4 separate regions of the Homo sapiens genome follow, and regions 2, 3 and 4 are each linked to region 1. Evidence: promoter capture Hi-C in human tissues and cell types (Jung and others, 2019). All regions are on one chromosome and are shown on one strand. Each heading gives the region's core, a stretch centred on a gene start or on the middle of the fragment in contact. The rest is flanking DNA. Distances are from core to core; before and after follow the strand shown.

The links. The method cuts DNA at HindIII sites, captures the fragments that hold promoters and counts their contacts. A contact is called where the count stands out against the background at its distance.
Region 2: a fragment that was not itself captured here is called in contact with the fragment with the promoter of CCAR2 in region 1 in 1 of the 25 tissues and cell types used here (spleen).
Region 3: a contact is called between a fragment that was not itself captured here and the fragment with the promoter of CCAR2 in region 1, in 1 of the 25 tissues and cell types used here (liver).
Region 4: a contact is called between a fragment that was not itself captured here and the fragment with the promoter of CCAR2 in region 1, in 1 of the 25 tissues and cell types used here (mesenchymal stem cells).

Annotation. Positions count from the first base shown.
Region 1 is chr8:22,603,263-22,606,433 of GRCh38, reverse strand. It overlaps CCAR2 (cell cycle and apoptosis regulator 2), which reads right to left and starts at 1,677. Exons shown (of 21, transcript NM_001393997.1): 1 at 1,592-1,677; 2 at 603-698; 3 at 258-349. The coding sequence starts at 660. It overlaps C8orf58 (chromosome 8 open reading frame 58), which reads right to left. Exons shown (of 7, transcript NM_001013842.3): 7 at 2,292-3,171. The coding sequence ends at 3,128. LOC107986876 (a long non-coding RNA gene) reads left to right here and starts at 1,434. Exons shown (of 1, transcript NR_160769.1): 1 at 1,434-3,171. RefSeq lists silencers at 1,260-1,319, 1,380-1,679 and enhancers at 1,343-1,843, 1,850-1,959. The HindIII fragment of the contact is 3,664 bases long and covers 1-2,155 here.
Region 2 is chr8:23,105,283-23,108,453 of GRCh38, reverse strand. The region is part of intron 1 of TNFRSF10C (TNF receptor superfamily member 10c); the gene reads right to left. Among named protein-coding and RNA genes, the nearest start is that of TNFRSF10C, 3.9 kb to the right of the region's middle. The HindIII fragment of the contact is 5,895 bases long and covers 1-3,171 here.
Region 3 is chr8:22,204,207-22,207,377 of GRCh38, reverse strand. It overlaps BMP1 (bone morphogenetic protein 1), which reads right to left. Exons shown (of 20, transcript NM_006129.5): 17 at 397-524; 18 at 1-75. Among named protein-coding and RNA genes, the nearest start is that of PHYHIP, 26 kb to the left of the region's middle. The HindIII fragment of the contact is 8,100 bases long and covers 1-3,171 here.
Region 4 is chr8:22,287,053-22,290,223 of GRCh38, reverse strand. It overlaps PIWIL2 (piwi like RNA-mediated gene silencing 2), which reads right to left. Exons shown (of 23, transcript NM_018068.5): 7 at 2,579-2,696; 8 at 1,558-1,682; 9 at 297-377. Among named protein-coding and RNA genes, the nearest start is that of PIWIL2, 13 kb to the right of the region's middle. The HindIII fragment of the contact is 4,874 bases long and covers 1-3,171 here.

The DNA.
Region 1 (3,171 bases), core at 428-2,927:
GTTTGAGCTGGTTCTTGACCCACAAGCTTCTTCTGGGATTTCCAGTTCATTAATTCCAAGACGTAAGCTAAAGATTTCCCTGGAGCGAGAAATGAAGATGCCCCAGTCTGAAGGCTATCTGGGCAACCCCATACTAGCCCACTACCAGGAGAGGGATCAGGAATGATAAACACTATTATGTAAGAGAAAAAGAGCACCAGGCCTCCATGCATTCAGTCCCAAGGGCTGAAACTTACTACAAGGGATGCCGAACCTACCTGAAGGTGCCTGGCATTCTGGGACAGTTCTGTGGCCACAGGAGGAGTGAGCAAACCAGGAGGAGGGCCCAGAAGAGATGTTGAAGCTGTGCCTATGGGGAAAGAGAAGCAATCTCCAGGAACCGCCCCTACCACCTTAAGCACGAGTCAACCAAAGGATGTGGTAAATCCAAAGGCTACAGCTCCAGCCAGCTCCTCCACAGAGCTTCACTGGCAATCACTGTGGGCATCTCCTGCTTTCCAGAGGAACATCAGCAGCAAATTGCTCTCCACCAGGGAAACCCCAAACTAACTCCAGAGCACATACTTCCCAGGATGAGGCCAGGTAGGGAGAACAGTGATCACCTGAGAAGTTGCGTCCCCCTGGAAGCGGGTTGATCCGCTGGCGCTTAAACTGGGACATTGGGAACGCTGTCCTCTTTCAGAGTCGTGGGGAAAAGGCTTCAATCCAAAAAGAAAGAAATTAACAGCTTATAAGGGAAATTTCCATCTATACCCGGAAAAGTGGAGAATCTTAAGTAAGGATATTTCGGAAAACAGGGAGGTGGGTAATAAGAATGAATGAAAGCAATGGATGGAGAGAATATAGAGAAGAAAGAAATGAAACAAGAAATTACATTGTTCCAGTTTGCCCTGACAATAACCTAGTGGTGCATGATACTGTCATGCTGTTTTACAGACAAGGAAACTGATGCTCAGAGAGATCAAGAGACTTGCCCGGGGCCACATAACCAGGTAGTGACAAAACTGCTACTCACACCCAGGCCTCCCAACAACTTAGCGCTCCTCTCACTATGCCACGCCACCCCCAGAGTAGCTGGCGGGGTGAGGGGCTCGAGAGAGCCCCGATGACATTCCTTCGTTCAAAAACATCCGCCAAAACCCTCCACGCAAGGCCCGGAAAAATGGAGGAGGCCGGTGCCGGCGAGGAGACTGTGTGGGCCCTCTCCCCGGAAGCCCGACCCGTTGTTTCCTCGACCGGCTGGTGGGAAGGCAGCTCCCTGGCCGACCAAACGCGAAACCGGCTGCGCGCCACCCTCCTGCTCCCACGCTCCCGGGCCCTCCGCTCCGGCCTCAGCAGCCGCCAGCGCCGGGTCTCCCAGCAGAGCCGCGGCGAGGCCACCAAGGGAGGACTGAGGCGCGCGGTTTCTCCTCCTCCCGCCCGCCCCCAAGGCCGAGGCCGTTGCCAGGGAGACGGGACTTGCAGTCCAAAGAGGGGCTCGGCCCCTTCCGCGCCCCACGCATCTTCGCCGCCCGGCCCTCGCAGCCCCTCGGCCAGCGGAGGGGCGGAGGGGCGAAGGGGCAGAGGGGCGGCAGGGGGCCCCCCAACCCACCTGCGGGCCAGGGCAGCGACACCGGGGGGACAAAGACACCCGGAACCACCACAGCCGCTGCTGCCGCCGCCACCGGAAGCGCCTCTCCGGAAGCGCGACCACTGGTCGGAAGCTGCCGCTCTCCCGGATATGGTCCCTCCCTCGTCTCCGCCGACCTCTCCCTTCCCCCACGCCGGCTTGCCATCCCGCGGCAACTGGGGAGCGGAAGTGCGCCTTCCCGGATCGGATGCGCGTCAGGAAGTCGCGCCTCGGTAGTGTCCTCGCTAAAGAATCCCATCAGGAAAGAAGGCTTCGGATCATTGGTTCCGGGCTCAAAGGAAGCGGGAGCTGGGCCCCCCAAACACAAGGGACCCCCGACTGCCTACCACGCTCGCCTCCCTCTGGCAGTCGAGACTGCAACAGATAAGGAAACCAGCCCCTCCTGACTGGAGGAGAAGGATGCCTATCAGTGACCATTTCTAAGAGACATTCCTGGTCTGACTCAAGCCAGTGACCACCATGCCTAGCCAGTCAGGAATCAGTGCCCTAATTCTCAAATATGAAATCTAAGAGGCCTCAATGAAATGACCTGCTCAAAATCTTGCCAGGAGACTGGCCATTTTAGTCCCCATTAGCAATCCCAGCCCCCCCTTATCCTCCGACCTCCCCATCATCACTCCAGCCTTACTTTCCCCTTTCCTATTCACCTGAGGTTTACAAAGCACTTTGAGGCAGTTTAATCTCACTTTATCCTCATAACAAGTCTGTGAGGTAGATAGGGCAGGCATCATTATTCCCAGCGGGAAGCTGTGGCTCAGAAAGGTTGACTTGGGGTCTAAAAACTAGTACAGGCATCTGGTTTGAATTAAGACCTGTAAACGCTAGTACGGAGCAGAGAAGCTGAGCACTGGCTTTGAAAGTTATTCAGTTCCCAGGTTGTCCCTGATCTTCCTCATTCCTTGTGCAGTCTTCAGGAGTCCGGGGCAAGATTCCATGCAGAGGCAGCCAAAGCCACACCGTTCTCTGTCCCAGGGCTGCCAGCATGGCTCTGAGGAGGAAAGCTCAGTAACTGCCCACTGGGGAATAAAGGTCAGTTCCATCCTTCTGCAGTGACCTCCCCCAGAATATCAACCCTTTGGATGCATTATTTCAGAAGAGATGGTTGGATCCAGCCAGCTTGCAACACTGACAGTCACACAGAGATATGCATACCATTGCGCATAAATACACATCTGCAACATGCTGGGCCCAGACAGGTCACCATGCCAAAAACACTCCACGGACACCTGACAATGAGTGAGTTCACATTGTGGAAGCCCAGGGATTTCTGGTGAGGAGGAAGAGCCCTGGAGCTGCGGCATCTTGGGGGCCTCTCAAGAAACCAAGGTTCCTGACCAGACTGCTTAGAGGAGAAAGATTCAGCCCTCGACTCAAGAGAGGAGGGCAGGCGTCAGCAGCTTTTCCTGGCAATGTGGAGAAGCAGCAAGAGGGCAGAGGGCGAGGAAGACTTCACAGCAAGTCCCCTCCACCCAGGGTCACCAGGTGCACCGAGAGGTCTCAGCCTACAGAAAGGTTTTTTGCTCGTTGCTTCTTAACCACTA
Region 2 (3,171 bases), core at 332-2,831, 500 kb before region 1:
TCAGGTAGTTGATAACTGTGTCTCTAAAGTAATAACTGGTTACAGCCGATGCCAGAAAAAAGCAGTTTCCTAATACATAGAAAACACTTGAAACTGATCAGCAGCTTCCCAATAAGATTTCAGGAGTGGGGAGAAGTAAGGCAAGATCCTGGAAGTAGGCCAACCTATAAAACCCCAACTCAGGCGGTCCGGCTGCGTACTGTTTCTCAAGTCACCTGCTTGGCCATCTTCCAAGTGTACTTTCCTTCTTTTCTTTCTGTTCCTTCCTTTCCTTCCTGTTCCTTCCTTTCCTTCCTGTTCTAAAGCTTTTTAATAAACTTTCACTCCTGCTCTGAAACTTGCCTCCATCTCTGCTTCTGCCTTATGCCCCTCAAACCAGTTCTTTCTTCTCAGGAGGCGAAGAGCTGAAGGTGCTGTGGACGCATACGGATTCGCCGCCTTCAACGTAGGGTAACTCGGATCTCATCCACCGCTAACAAAATCAACTTCATCTGATACTGAGATAGCCATGGCAGTTTTCTTGGCCTTACACTCTGCATGGTGTATCTTTTTCCATCTATTTACTTTCAACAGACAACATCTGTGTCTTCCTTTTAAGGCCCATCTCATATAGACAAGATATAGTTGAGTCTTGCTTTCTCAGCCCTTCCAAACATTTCTACCATTGAACTGTAGTGCTCAGTGGATTTACAGGGAGTGCAATAATTGATATAGTTGAAATAGACCTGTAAGTTTACCATTTAAGCTATGATTGTCTAGTCTAATTTTTTTACTCCTTTTCCCCCTGCACATTTTAATGTTAATTACCTTTTAGAATTCCATTTTAATTGGATAAACTGACTTTTTATGCATACCTATTTCCATGATCTATGTGCAAGTGCTATAGGGAATACAGTATACACTCAAGTGTTTACATTCTATTGAAGGTTTTTTAAAAATGGATTCATTGAGGTATAATGGGCATGAAACAAAGTGTACATTTTTGAAGCATGTAGTTTGGTAGATTGAGACGTGTGTATACATTGTGGAACTACCACCACGATAAGAAAATGACATGTCCACCACACCCCAGAATTTCTTCATTCTTCAATGTAATCCTCTCTTCCGCTTTGCTCCTATGTCCCCAGCAATAATTCTGCTTTTTGTCAGAATAGATTGGTCGAATTTTAATGAGAAATGGAATCAGATGGTAAGCATTCTGTGTGGATTCCTTCACACGACATAATTTTCTGTGTTTTTCTGTTTTTCTGTTTGTTTGGTTTTTTGTTGTTGTTGTTGTGACCGGGTTTTGCTATGTTGCCCTGGCTGGTCTTGAACTCCTGGGCTCAAGTGATCTGCCTGTCTTGGCAGGACTACAGGTGTGAGCCATCGCACCCTGCCCACCCTGGTCAATTGACTATTATGAATTAAAGGCTATTGAAAAACAACAGGTGCAAGAAGATCCTTTGACCTCTTTTGTGTTTCCTAAAAGCAGGAGATGAAAGTCCCCAGGGAAACATAGGACAATCTCCTTTTTTTTTTTTTCTGAAAGCTCTGCTTCCCAGGTTCTCACCATTCTCCTGCCTCAGCCTCTCCAGTAGCTGGGACTACAGGCACCCGCCACCACACTCCGCTAATTGTTTTGTATTTTCAGTAGAGACGGGGTTTCACTGTGTTAGCCAGGATGGTCTCGATCTCCTGACCTCGTGATCCACCTGCCTTGACCTCCCGAAGTGCTGGGATTACAGGCGTGAGCCACCGCACCCAGCTGACAATTTCCTTATTTTTAAGGATGAGAAGTCGAGGCCAAGAGGGTACTGTGCAGACCATGTTAGAATGGATCCACTCTCATCTTTTTAGCTCCTCACATAGTTACTTGCTTCTTCATGAGTTACTTGGTCTAATTCAGTAAATAAGTAACTGACTCTCACAGGTTCTTCCATGCCAGGTAAAACTTGAATTAAATAAATGTGTGTGCTTGTCTCCTGTGGACCTCTCTTAGGTGAATCAAATTCTCAGGCCCAGCTAAAAAAAAAAAAAAAAAAATCGGGTGGGGGGGCATCTAAAGGAGAGCTTCGCTCCCCTCCCTGACCCTCAATGGTGACTGTAATCAAACCACATCTTCCAGGCCAACAGTACCACATCCTATGGCCCTGCAACAGCATGGCCTCTCTCCAGCACAGCCTCTCTGGAGGAGGGGGAGGCAAGGGTAGTGAGATCTCAGGCCTCCTTCATGCTACCTCCTATTAGTTATATAATCCCTGGGTCACCTCTCCCACCACACTGCGGGCTCCAGGGAACAGGATTCACATGGGGTTCATTTGTCCTCCCAAACTCCGGCGGACTCCAGGCACAGGTGTTCTCAGAGTAAAGGGCTCACTGTTTACTTCCTGGATGAATCACTTTCCCCTCAAGCCTATGAAGTGCGCGCAGTTGTGGCCTCAGCTCAAGGCCGAAGGACAGGCTCCAAGAGCCCTGTGAACTCTGCTGAGGAACCATAAGAGCTCCCAGAGGCCAAGGGCAGGACAGAGATCAGAGAAGCAGCTGCTCAGAGAACTCTAGCCCTGAATCTCATTTTACCACTTGTAAAACAGGAAAAACAACCTACCTTCATCTCCCCGGGTTGTTAGGAAATCCACTACATGAAGATGTGCATTCTCTGGCTGGAAGCAGGATACCAGCTGCCCAACGGCAGAGGCTCGGGGCATGGCACTGTCCCCACTGTCCCCATCCCTGACCTAGAAGCTAGAGCCTCACTGCCCTGCCACTCCTGGATACACGACAGAGGACCAGAACTGGGACTGTGGCCTCTCAGTACAGCCTGGGTGAGTAGCCATCTGCAGCCACCTGGATGGAGACATTTCCTGCTCACTCTTCAAACTACAACCCGGGCCAGGCGCCTACCAGAAGGACAACTGGAAGCATGGCAGGTAAACCAGGCTGTGGCCCTGCAGTGCCATCGCTGTCCTCACTTGACGTCTGGCTCCTCTGTTCCTCCATGGCCCCTCCCCGTGGTGCTCCACCCTAGTCTTCAGAAGCTTCTGCCCCAAGCTCAGGGAGCAAGTACCAGGGTGCAGGTAGGAACAGGGGCAGCCTCTGCTGGATGGAGGACAGGTGCCTGGGGATCCAGTCCAGAGTGAGTGACACCAGCCCTGAGGATGTGATTTGTCCTCCCACACCTGGTAACACAGC
Region 3 (3,171 bases), core at 432-2,931, 400 kb after region 1:
GTCTCGCCCGTCGAACACCTCTAGGTGGTCGTAGGCACACTCAGGCTGGGACTCGATGTCCATCTCCATGAAGGTCTAGGGGGATGAGGAAGGAGCACAGATTAAAAATTTGGCTGGAAGGCAGGTGGGGCAAGGATGAGGGCCCCAAACCTAGGCCTCACAGATACCCATGGGAGCAGCCACAGCTGGGGATGACAGTGAAGGAGGGCCCAGGAATAGGGCGAAGGCAGGGACGCCCCTAATTTATACTGGGAAAGGGGCCTCTGTCCAGGCCAGACTTGGGGTCTCCTGGGGATGGCAGACCTCTGGGCTCAGCCTGCAGCCTGTGTGGCTCTGGGCAGTGCCTCTGACCGGGGGCAGCCACACCGCATAAGGAGTGGGGAGGGGACCCCTTACCAGCTTGACCCGGTGCCCGGGGGTGCTGGAGATGGCCCACGTGCACTCCTTCTTGCTGGGATACTTGTCAGGCCAGTTGGGGCTGGTGATGGTACCACTGGTGGATGTCACCTTGTGGTCACAGCCGGCTGCAGGGAAGCGAGTGACGGAAGGGGATAGAGAGGGACCCCAAGCTCCGATGCCTCCTGTGGGGAAGGCCCTTCCCTCCTGCCCCCCCTCCTTTCTTCCATCTCTTGTCCCACTTATGAACTGGATGGCAGGCAGGCATCGTTTCTTTTTCATGAGGTTACTGCGTCTGGGGAAAATCTAGCTGCCCGATTCCTACAAAAGCCTTGAGTGAGGCCTCACATGGCAGCACTCATGAAGCAGCCATCGCAGGCTCCCTGGACAACCCCCAGACCTTTGTAGGTGTTGGGCCACAGGGGTCATATCACCTGTGCCTCTCCATTTTTCTTTTCTTTCTTTCTTTTTTTTTTTTTTGAGATGGAGTCTCGCTCTGTTGCCCAGGCTGGAGTGCAGTGGTGTGATCTCGGCTCACTGCAACCTCCACCTCCCAGGTTTAAGTGATTCTCCTGCCTTAGCCTCCTCAGTATCTTGGATTACAGACGTGCGCCACCATCTCTGGCTAATTTTTGTATTTTTAGTAGAGACGGGGTTTCGCCATGTTGGCCAGGCTAGTCTCAAACTCCCGACCTCAGGAGATCTACCCACCTTGGCCTCCCAAAGTGCTGGGATTACAGGCGTGAGCCACTATGCCTGGCTAATTTTTGTATTTTTAGTAGAGACAGAGTTTCACCATGTTGGCCAGGCTGGTCTCGAACTCCTGGCCCCAAGTGATCCACCTGCCTAGGCCTTCCAAAGTGCTGGGATTACAGGCGTGAGCCACTGCACCCGGCTGACCTGTGCCCCTCCTTGAAGCTGTCATCCACTGATCTCCAGCAGCCTGGACAGTCACAGGGGACTTTGACACCTGACTCAGTTCTCCCCACCCCCACTCCTGCTACCCTCCCAGGTGAAGTCAACAGACATATAACGGTCCACCCAAGACGGCCTCTCGGTTCCTTGAGGGCTTTGTCATCATCCACTGTTTCTTCACATCACAAACACATCACCCCTCTGTGGCCACCTCCTGTTCCTTCGGGGTGCTCAGGACCTCACCTTCCTGATCATGGTCATTTGGCTTTATTAAAATTAAAAAACAAAAACAAAAATGGGTCCTCACTTTGCTACCCAGGCTGGAGTACAGTAGTGCGATCATAGCTCACCATAGCCTTGAGCTCCTAGGCTCAATTGATCCTCCCGCCTCAGCCTCCCAAGTAGCTGGGACTACAGGCATGCCACCTGGGTAATTTTTTTCATTTTTGCTTGTTGTAGAGATGGGGTCTCACTATGTTGCCCAGGCTGATGTCAAACTCCTGGATTCAAGCGATCCTCCTGCCTCAGCTTCCCAAAGTGCTAGGGTCACAGGCATGAGCCACTGTGCCTGGCTGGCCTCTTAATTTTAGAGAGACCTCCAGGGTCTTGATCTTTCTATTCTCTCCCACTATTTCCTCCTCGATTGACTTAACTGACTGCAGGGCTGACCACCCAGCCTGCTCCTCTGCACCCTGCGTGGCCCTGCATCCCCGGCTCTGCACAGCACTATCTTAGAAAACTCCACCTGTGGCTCCAGCCTCACCTGGGCCCCCAGACCACTTGATACTCTTTGGATTGGCCTTTACCAGCTCCATCTCTCACCTCCTTAGTAACTGCTGCAAACATCCAGCCCCCTCCTCAAGCCACTGTGTCAGCTCCCAGTGGCAGACCACCTCTCTCCTACCTCCTGACAAAGCCAGGGCCTTCCACCATGAATGGCTTCAACCTCTGGACTCCGACCTGCAAACCCACCTACCCTGCTACCCTGCTGCCCTGAAGCCTCAGAGCAAGTGTCCCTCCTCCCCGTCAGGATGGACTGCCCTTCTGGGAGGTGCAGCTCATTGCTGCCCACGCGTGGGAACCCTCACACCACAAATGATCCAGCCTCACGCTCTCACTCAGCTCTGCAGCCTCGGAACCTTCACACATCCTGAAAGAGCTCTCCCAGGCCCCTCCAGCTACAGCCCATCGCTCTCCTTTTGTTTCCAGCTAGCCTTCGAGAACACTCGCTATGGCCACACTCTCACGGCAGGTCTCCTCAATCCACGGCAATCTGACTTCTGCCTCTGAAAAGCATGGCTTCCCCAACTCAATTTCTTTTTGCGGGGGCGGGCGGGGTGGGGGGGGACAGGGTCTTGCTCTGTTGCCCAGGCTGGAGTGAAGTGGCGCGATCCTGGCTCACTGCAACCTCTGCCTCCCAGGTTCAAGCGATTCTTGTGCCTCAGCCTCCCAAGCAGTTGGGACTATAGGCTTGCGCCACCACGCCTGGCTAATTTTTTGTATTTTTAGTGGAGACGGGTGTTGCCATGTTGCCCAGGCTGGTCTTGAGCTCCTGAGCTCAGGCAATCTGCCCCCATCAGCTTCCCAAAGTGCTGGGATTACAGGCATGAGCCACCACGCCCTGCCCCGACTCAGATTTACAAGCTGATGATCATTATTCATGATGACATTATTGGACAGCTTTCACTGGGGGAAACAGGCGGCCAGGCACTATGACTGGTGGGGAGAAGGATGGGCAAGATACAGCACGAGGGCCCGGAAAACAGGGCCCTCTCAAGTCCCTGGTAGAGGCAGGTGAAGCTCCCGTCTACCCACACTTGAACCGTGAGCTGTCACCATTACCCATCGGTGGGTTCACAC
Region 4 (3,171 bases), core at 451-2,950, 320 kb after region 1:
GAGGTGGTCTCAACTGTAGGATTTTCAAAGAACACATATACTTCCATGCCCCCATGTGAACAAAACATTGAGGTGATACTGCCCTTCCCTAATAGTAATGAGAAAGCCTCAAGAAACTAAGTTAATTGACATTATTGCAAACTTACTGAAAAACCAAACTAAGGAAGAGATTTAATTGATAAACTGTATTCACTACCATAAACTACTGCTGACATTATAGTACTAAATACAATGGTTGTAATGGAAACTTTCTTTCCAGAACATTCAAAAGTGAGGGAAGGGAAAAAAGTACCAACCTGTGTTGCTGTAGTACCATAGCACTTGTAGGGTCATAAAAGTTTCTCCCCACAAGCTTCATATCTAAAAGTTTCATTACCCTGAAATAAAAAGCAAGTATGAGTTTTCTAATAGAAGAGTAATAAAATTATGTTCCATTATTCTTAGCTACATTTGCCTTTGGAAGTCTGAACGGTTAGAAATGTTTGTGCTCTTTGCAGAAGACAGCTTTTATATTGAGAACAATCTTGTTAAAAGAAAACCAAAAACTGCCAAAGCATTTGACTGAAAAAGCAAAGCAAAATGACAGCAGTCTTTTCCACTTACTAGCTGACCAAACACTGAGTTGGTTTCCAAGGTTTTATTACGTTACTTTTCACCACTAACTACGAAGAATGCAAGACAGCCCATTGCTAAGTGTGTGAATAACAGTGTGGCAAAGGGAGCTATGTTTACTCCTGGCAGTTCAACTTACTAGGTAGAAATTAGGTTCCATGGGCCGGGCGCGGTGGCTTACGCCTCTAATCCCAGCACTTTGGGAGGCTGAGGTGGACAGATCACGAGGTCAAAAGATCGAGACCATCCTGGCCAACAAGATGAAACATCATCTCTATTAAAAATACAAAAATTAGCCAGACGTGGCAGCGCATGCCTGTAATCCCAGCTACTCAGGAGACTGAGGCAGGACAATCACTTGAACCAGGGAGTCGGAGGTTGCAGTGAGCCGGGATTGCGCCACTGCACTACAGCCTGGCGACAGAGCGAGACTCCGTCTCTCAAAAAAAAAAAAAAAAAGAAAAAAGAAAAGAAAAGAAATTAGGTTGTGTTTCATTAAATAAGAGAATAGCGGCTGTATGAAAACTAGGATGTTTCAAAAGAAGTTAAACAATTATGAGCTGTCTGTAATCCAAAAATTCAAGACACTGAAAAATCCTTCCAGCAAATATTTTTACACACAACCTCTTTAAGTAGCCCCCTTGTTACCGTCACCATTAAATATGCACTATCAACAGCCGCTTTCAAAGTTCCTGAACACAACTGGAGGAACCCGTTCCCCTATCCAGCTACCTCCAAACCTAATTTCATATATTCAAATCTGGTCTACCACTTGTGAGATAATTTTTGAGTAAGTTAGCCTCAATACCATCCATTTATTCATTAAATGCTTCCAAACCCATCTAGAATATACTGTCACGTATTTCCATCCAAGTATCTTGAAGAACATTACTGTAAATACAAGACTGAAGTTACAGGACAATAGAACTTCAGCTGTTTTCTTACCGACGGAAAACAACATTGTAGAAGGGAATGCACAGGTCAGAGCAGGGCTCCAGGATCTTTGTCATCTGAATCTTAATGCTGATTTCAGCACTGTCTGTTTTCCTTTGACTTTTTAACTCAAGAACCTAACAAATAAATACACACAGGTGAAACAAAATGACAAAACTAAGAACTAATGACCAAGTCCTAATCTAATTCAACTGTGTTCTTAAGAACACTAAAGTATCTTAAAACATTTTTCTACTTTTCCCCTCACTTTGTTGCCCACACTAGCAAAAGCACAGCATGACAACTACGATTCAGAAAAATGATTTGGTAAGAGAATTCCAACCAAGTTTACATTTGCAATTTTTTTTTTTTTTTTTTTTGGAGACAGAGTCTCGCTCTGTCACCCAGGCTGGAGTGCAGTGGCGTGATCTCGGCTCACTGCAGGCTCCGCCTCCTGGGTTGACGCCATTCTCCTGCCTCAGCCTCCTGAGTAGCTGGGACTACAGGCGCCTGCCACCATGCCCAGCTAATTTTTTTTATTTTTAGTAGAGACAGGGTTTCACCGTGTTAGCCAGGATGGTCTCAATCTCGTGACCTCGTGATCCACCTGACTTAGCCTCCCAAAGTACTAGGATTACAGGCGTGAGCCACCGCACCCGGCCTACATTTGCAATTTTAAGTTACTCTTTATCACTGAGGTCACAGACTTCCAACCATTCCTCTCATGTGAGAAGGTGCTTCTTGAGGAATTCAAACCTAAAATGTGCTGTGATGTCCTGCAGAAATCTGTCTTCCCCTCTATGAACAGAAAAGCACAACTCGAACATACAGGAATTCTATGGTTTCCTACCCCTCAAAACACCAGTCCTGGGCCAGGTGAAGTGGCTCACACGCCTGTAGTCCCAGGGCTTTGGGAATTCGAGACCAGTCTGGGCAACATAGCAAGACCCAATCTCTTAAAAGCAAAACCAAACAAAAAACGCCAGAGCACTCTTAGGGTTCATCTCAAAGTCCATTTCCTGTTTGGTCTCACTTGTTGAAGCTTAACAGGCAGATAGAGAATAGATCCATCAAACGCAGTGACGTTGCCGGTGACAGCTTGATGGTCCTTCAACATGCCGAACCTCATGCTTTTGCACTCCACATTGGGGCTGGAAAATAATGAAGAGGATTTTCCTTTAACTTGACTCAAACTGCAATCTTTACCAGAGCTGTGCAACAGGTGCTAGTTACCCAGTAACTGCTGCTCCATCTAGCGGGCATATTAAAAATTATCTATCTGCCTAGAACTTTGACTCAAGAAGACCTGCTCGCAGCTGAAACATCAGAAACCATAGGTCATAAAAAAATAAAAACCACCAAATCCTACCACCAAAGGACACCTGCCTTAGCACGTCAGTGTATATTCTTTCATATATACACATTTGTTTTTGAGACGGAGTCTCGCTCTGCCGCCCAGGCTGGAGTGCAGTGAAGCCATCTCAGCTCACTGCAATCTCCACCTCCCAAGTTCAAGTGACTCTCCCTTTGTTTCCTTAACATTTGTCACTCCATTTTAAGAGGAAGACTTCTCCCCATCTCCCTTTTTTTTTTTGAGATAGGGTCTTCCTTTGTCACCCAGGCTGA